Linked DNA regions of Homo sapiens: region 2 is linked to region 1. The links are contacts of gene promoters, found by promoter capture Hi-C in human tissues and cell types (Jung and others, 2019). All regions are on one chromosome and are shown on one strand. Each heading gives the region's core, a stretch centred on a gene start or on the middle of the fragment in contact. The rest is flanking DNA. Distances are from core to core; before and after follow the strand shown.

Region 1 (2,980 bases), core at 314-2,813:
GAGTGGTCCATCTGGGTCAGGTTGTTCTCATGGCCATATTTGATTGTGGAATACCACCTGGCCCCATAACCTACTCATTCACTGGAGTCTCCACCCCTCATAGGATCAAGGTGTTTGGACTGTTTGCTGTAGCCTCTGGAAAAATTAAGAATGGAGTGGGAGAGCCAGGCTTGGGTTGGGTGAAACATGTATCTCCCAAGGTGACCCTAGGTGAGGGGGAGGAAGAAGGAAATGGGCTGCTGGGCCAGATCCATGGGGCACATCTTGAAGGGCAAGACTAGGTGTGTCTTTCTCTTTGCAGAAGGCAGAGTCGTCTGGGCCTAGACACGAGGAGGCTGGGCCATGCTGGAGGTTGAGGGTGGCAGGGGAGGAGATTATAGCCCACCTAAACACTACCAAAAGAGCACATAGATACACTAAATCATTTGGAATCCAGTCCCTACTCCCTACATGAGTATATTATCCATGTGGCATTTTAAGCTCTCCCTGCATACCTGCGTCTCCCTTTCATGTCTTTGGGTTCCTGATCATCCACGCTGCCAGAGCTATAGTGGATTGTGGGTAGAGGGACAGGAAGGCTGTGTGCTTTGAGTCTCCATCCCTGGGGCTGACCATGGAACAGGTCATGCTCTGTGGTACATTTTGGCCCCTGCACCATCCATCACCCTGGTTTTCTTTGCAGAAGTATGTACCTAAACAAGAAGCGAGGCCACCTGGGAAGTGGAGGTCTCAGCCCAGCCCAGGGGAGTGAGCCCACAGACAGAAGAAGAGTGACTACTAACAAGCAGAAAGGGACCTGGGCACTTGATTCAGATGAGGACCCTGGTGACTCTGCCCCTTCCAGTGGGCTCAAGCCCCTGCCCAAGAGTCCAGTTTTATCATCTAGGGGGACATCTAGGGCTGGCAGGATCTTGCCGTCTCTCCCTTGGCCCTGGGGTTTGGGGCAGGAGCCTTCTAGACAAGGCCCAGGCACTAGGCCCACCAATGCAGGTGTACCAAACAGGACTCTTCTCTAAGAGGCCTTTGGCTTGGAGAAGAGCCTGGACCTGGCGGCTCCCAAGTTTTTACTTCTCTCAAAGTGCTACCCAGCTGCCTATAGCACATGGGCCCCTGTTGCATTAAATCTATAAATAAAACTTCACACCCCAATACTTATCCTAGGCAGAATCCTAGGCGTCCCACCCCTCGCGCAAACCTGCCTTCCTGGGATGGGAGAATTTGGAAACGCTCCCTGAGCCAGTCCTGGGGAGCTTCCTTCCAGCCCCTGCCCCGGTGGTGGGGGGTCCGCAGAGATCCGCGGGAGGTCCGGGCACGCACGCCTGGCTGTGGGGAAATTCGGCCCCGTCAGGCGGCCGCGCTCACAGGAGCAGCGTGACCCGTCGGCCCCGGGGGTGCTGGCGCCAGGAGCCAGCACTCGCGGTGCGCTCCCCCGCGCCTGGCTTCCCTGGACTGTCGCCAGTCCTACTCTGCCTGAGGTGGCGAGGGCAGGGTGGAGCGCGGCCTTTTCTGGCCTGAGGAGGAGTCACTCGGGAGGTCACTCGGCTGCTGGGCGGGCTGCTGTCACAGGCGCTGCGTGCCCTGGCTCTGCTCGCCACTGGCCGGCGCGCTCCCGGCGCACGGAGCACACTCGCGCTCCCGGCGCACGGAGCACACTCGCGCTCCGGGACTGAAACCTGAGCAGCCGTAGCAGCCGAATTTGGGAGCATATCCTTGTCACTGCAGCCAGAAAGCCCTTCGATCCCCATCAGAGAGGTCACATGAGCCCCGAGGTCACCTGCCCGCGGAGGGGCCACCTGCCTCGCTTCCACCCGAGGACCTGGGTTGAGCCCGTGGTGGCCTCGTCCCAGGTGGCTGCCTCCCTCTACGATGCGGGGCTACTCCTCGTGGTGAAGGCGTCCTACGGAACCGGAGGCTCCTCCAACCACAGTGCCAGCCCATCGCCCCGGGGGGCTCTAGAGGACCAACAGCAGAGAGCCATCTCCAATTTCTACATTATCTACAACCTTGTGGTGGGCCTGTCCCCCCTGCTGTCCGCCTACGGGCTGGGATGGCTCAGCGACCGCTACCACCGAAAGATCTCCATCTGCATGTCGCTGCTGGGCTTCCTGCTCTCCCGCCTCGGGCTGCTGCTCAAGGTGCTGCTGGACTGGCCAGTGGAGGTGCTGTACGGGGCGGCGGCGCTGAACGGGCTATTCGGCGGCTTCTCCGCCTTCTGGTCCGGGGTCATGGCGCTGGGATCGCTGGGCTCCTCCGAGGGCCGCCGCTCTGTGCGCCTCATCCTCATTGACCTGATGCTGGGCTTGGCGGGGTTCTGCGGGAGCATGGCTTCCGGGCATCTCTTCAAGCAGATGGCTGGGCACTCTGGGCAGGGCCTGATACTGACGGCCTGCAGCGTGAGCTGTGCCTCGTTTGCCCTGCTCTACAGCCTTTTGGTGCTAAAGGTCCCTGAGTCGGTGGCCAAACCCAGCCAGGAGCTCCCCGCCGTGGATACCGTGTCTGGCACGGTTGGCACATACCGCACTCTGGATCCTGATCAGTTGGACCAACAGTATGCAGTGGGGCACCCTCCATCTCCTGGAAAAGCAAAACCCCATAAAACCACCATTGCCTTGCTCTTTGTGGGTGCTATCATATATGACCTGGCGGTGGTGGGCACAGTGGACGTGATCCCTCTTTTTGTGCTGAGGGAGCCTCTCGGTTGGAACCAAGTGCAGGTGGGCTATGGTATGGCTGCAGGGTACACCATCTTCATCACCAGCTTCCTGGGTGTCCTGGTCTTCTCCCGCTGCTTTCGGGACACCACCATGATCATGATTGGGATGGTCTCCTTTGGGTCAGGAGCCCTCCTCTTGGCTTTTGTGAAAGAGACATACATGTTCTATATTGGTGAGTCTGTCATTCTTGAGGAGGCAGGACATTGCTAGCCCTCTGCATCATGGGGCTGACACCAGGGATGCCATGGTCTGGGTGTCCTAGCTCA
Region 2 (2,980 bases), core at 164-2,663, 240 kb before region 1:
TCCACTCAAGTTTCTGCTGTCTTTTACATTTGGTCTCCTTTCCACCTCTCATCTCATTGCCTTTGTTTCAGTCACTGCTTACATCTGACAGTCTTTGAATTCTCTTTTGAAGAGTCTTCTGAAAATGCTGTAGGCTCAAGTGAGACTTTAGGGAGCAGAAGAATACTTCCTAGATTCACTCCTTTAGTTGGAGCTTTTCCTGCATGTGGTGGTGGTGGTGGAAGCTACTTCTTCATCCCTGACCTGTAGGCAGAATAAAGATGTCTGTTTCCTCACACTCAGGGGAGGTGCAATGGAGGGTCATGAAAAGATGGCATCCTAAGATGTGTTCTCTCTCCTTGGCACAGCTAGGTTGGCATGTCCTTGTCAAGTCACTTGGAACCAGCGTGGTAGAGGTCTCTATATTTAAACTGCATCACCAACCTGAAACTGCCATTCCTGGAAGCAACCTCTATCTGGTTCTTCTTGTAAAAGAGCCTCTTGTGAGGGGAAAATGAGGAAGACCCACACTGGCTGCCTCAGACAGGGATCTCCACATGGAAAGTTGCACCAGGAGCTTCTCACCTTCCTCTCCTGAAGGGTGGGCCCACAATCCAGGATGGCTCCTTTCCTTCTGGAACCTGTGTGCCTCCCTGGCCCCCATGAACTCTAAAGCTGGTATTTAAGATATTTAAGAGGAAGACATAATACAAAGGATTATTCCTAATTCTGAAAATTAACTCTTTAAATCCAGTGACTTTATCCACTGTTTTATGGATAAAGTGTGTGTGTGTGTGCCTGTTATCCACTGTTTAGTGGATACAGTGTGTGTGTGTGTGTCTGTTATCCACTGTGTAGCGGATAAAGTGTGTATGTGTGTCTGTTATCCACTGTTTAGTGGATAAAGTGTGTGTGTGTGTGTCTGTTATCCACTGTTTAGTGGATAAAGTGTGTGTGTGTGTGTGTCTGTTATCCACTGTTTAGTGGATAAAGTGTGTGTGTGTGTGTGTGTGTGTTGGGGGTAATCTAGTATGTGTTTACTTTAAAATATTAGGTTCCTATGAATTTTATAGATGTAACAATGAATTTCAGGTACACTTTTTGTAACGGAATAATTTGATTGAGCTGAAGAACCACATTTGTTGCTACTGTTTCATAGTGCCAGATTGTGTTTGTTCAGAGACAGAAGAATATCTAAGTGCATCTGTTTCCTCACAGTCCCAATGCCACTGAGTTGCTTCTTTCCGAAGATTAGGAAAAGTGGCATATTTTATATTTCTTTAACTGCTAGTAAAGGTGTCATTCTTCTCGCCACTTGAAGATCTATAGTCTGTGTTTTGTCTAGCATGCATATTATATATAAATTTGGTATATATTTAAGTAGTAACCTTTTATTTTTTTTTGAGATGAAGTTTCACTCTTGTTGCCCAGGCTGGAGTGCAATAGCGCTAATTTTGTATTTTTAGTAGAGACAGGGTTTCTCCATGTTGGTCAGGCTGGTCTCGAACTCCTAGCCTCAGGTGATCCACCTGCCTCGGCCTCCCAAAGTGCTGGGATTGCAGGCATGAGCCACCATGCCTGACCGAGTAGTCACCTTTTATCATATCAGCTCTTACAACTTTTACCCATTCTGTTCCTTTATTTTATACATTCCATTATATTTTATATTAATAGTCTCACAGAATGTTAGTTGCTAGGAGCATGCTACTCACCAAGTATTTATGGACTGAAGATATGTTGAGTTAGAACAGACAGGTGGCATTGAGGCCATCTAGTTCAGGAGCCTAAACATTCACACATAGAAAATAAGGCTTAGTAGTCCCAGCTACTCAGGATGCTGAGGCAGGAGAATTGCTTGAACCCAGGAGGTGGAGGCTGCAGTGAGCCAAGATTGTGCCACTGCACTCCAACCTGGGTGACAGAGTGAGACTCTGTCTCAAAAAAAAAAAAAAAAAAAAAAGAAAGAAAGAAAGAAAATAAGGCTTGGAACAGTTCAGTGACTTATGACTTAGCCAAGGTTACAATGGTAAATCCAGATCATTAAGCCAGACTTATGTCCAGCAAAGTTCTAATTACCACACCAACTGCCTCAACTCTAAAGCATGGTTTCTGTGTTTGTACTACTGATGTTTTGGTCCAGATTGGCCAGATAATTCTTTGCTGTGGGGAACTGTCCTGTGTGTTGCAGAACGTTTAGCAGCATCCCTGGCCTCTAGCTTCTGGGGGCCACAAGCAAATGCCCCCACCTCTGAATTGTGACAACTAAAAATATCTCCAGACATTGCCAAGTGTTCCCTGGGGGACAAAATTGGCCCTGGTTGAGAACCACTGCTCTAGCAAGAACTAAACATTTCCTATGCATTTGTGGGAGTGATGTGAGTTTCCACAGCAGAAGTTTAGAATGGGAGCCCAGCACTCCTCTCAGGCGGCTGGAGAATATGGTAAAATCCATCATGTTATTGCTGGATGGAGGCAACAGTTCAGACCCTGCAAAGTGACACGGCAGAGAGCCAAGCAGGCTTTCCCAAGATAACAAGAGTTAAGCCTTGGCGAGATCAGTACCAAGGACAGCTCAAGGACACTGGCTTTTCAGACACTTTTAACTAGAGGTCTTTCAAGCACAGGTAGTTTGGATTTGAATATCCTTTCCCCTACTCACCCACTCCACCAGAAACTGTCTGTTCTTTAATGTTTCCATGTGGAGATCCCTGTCTGAGGCAGCCAGTGTGAATCTTCCTCATTTGCCCCTTACAATGGGCTCTTTTATAAGAACCAGAAAGTGATTGCTTCCAGAAATGGCAGTTTCATGCTGATGATGCACTTTCAGAGCTAACCAACGTAAGCTTCACCCCCACAGTATGAGATTACTATTATTATTCTAATGTTACAGATCTGGAAGCAGGCTCAAAGGTTCCCCAGCCCAGTGTTACACAGCTAGAAGATTCTGGGCTTCAAGGTTGGAAAAAGAATATTGGCTTCAATGTCTGCTCTTTCCCCAATG

The links. The method cuts DNA at HindIII sites, captures the fragments that hold promoters and counts their contacts. A contact is called where the count stands out against the background at its distance.
Region 2: a contact is called between a fragment that was not itself captured here and the fragment with the promoter of SLC46A2 in region 1, in 2 of the 25 tissues and cell types used here (H1 embryonic stem cells and IMR-90 fibroblasts).

The regions. Positions count from the first base shown.
Region 1 is chr9:112,889,459-112,892,438 of GRCh38, reverse strand. SLC46A2 (solute carrier family 46 member 2) reads left to right here and starts at 1,563. Exons shown (of 4, transcript NM_033051.4): 1 at 1,563-2,886. The coding sequence starts at 1,758. The HindIII fragment of the contact is 12,966 bases long and covers 1-2,980 here.
Region 2 is chr9:113,131,579-113,134,558 of GRCh38, reverse strand. No RefSeq gene overlaps it. Among named protein-coding and RNA genes, the nearest start is that of SLC31A2, 18 kb to the left of the region's middle. RefSeq lists a silencer at 2,436-2,730. The HindIII fragment of the contact is 3,800 bases long and covers 1-2,980 here.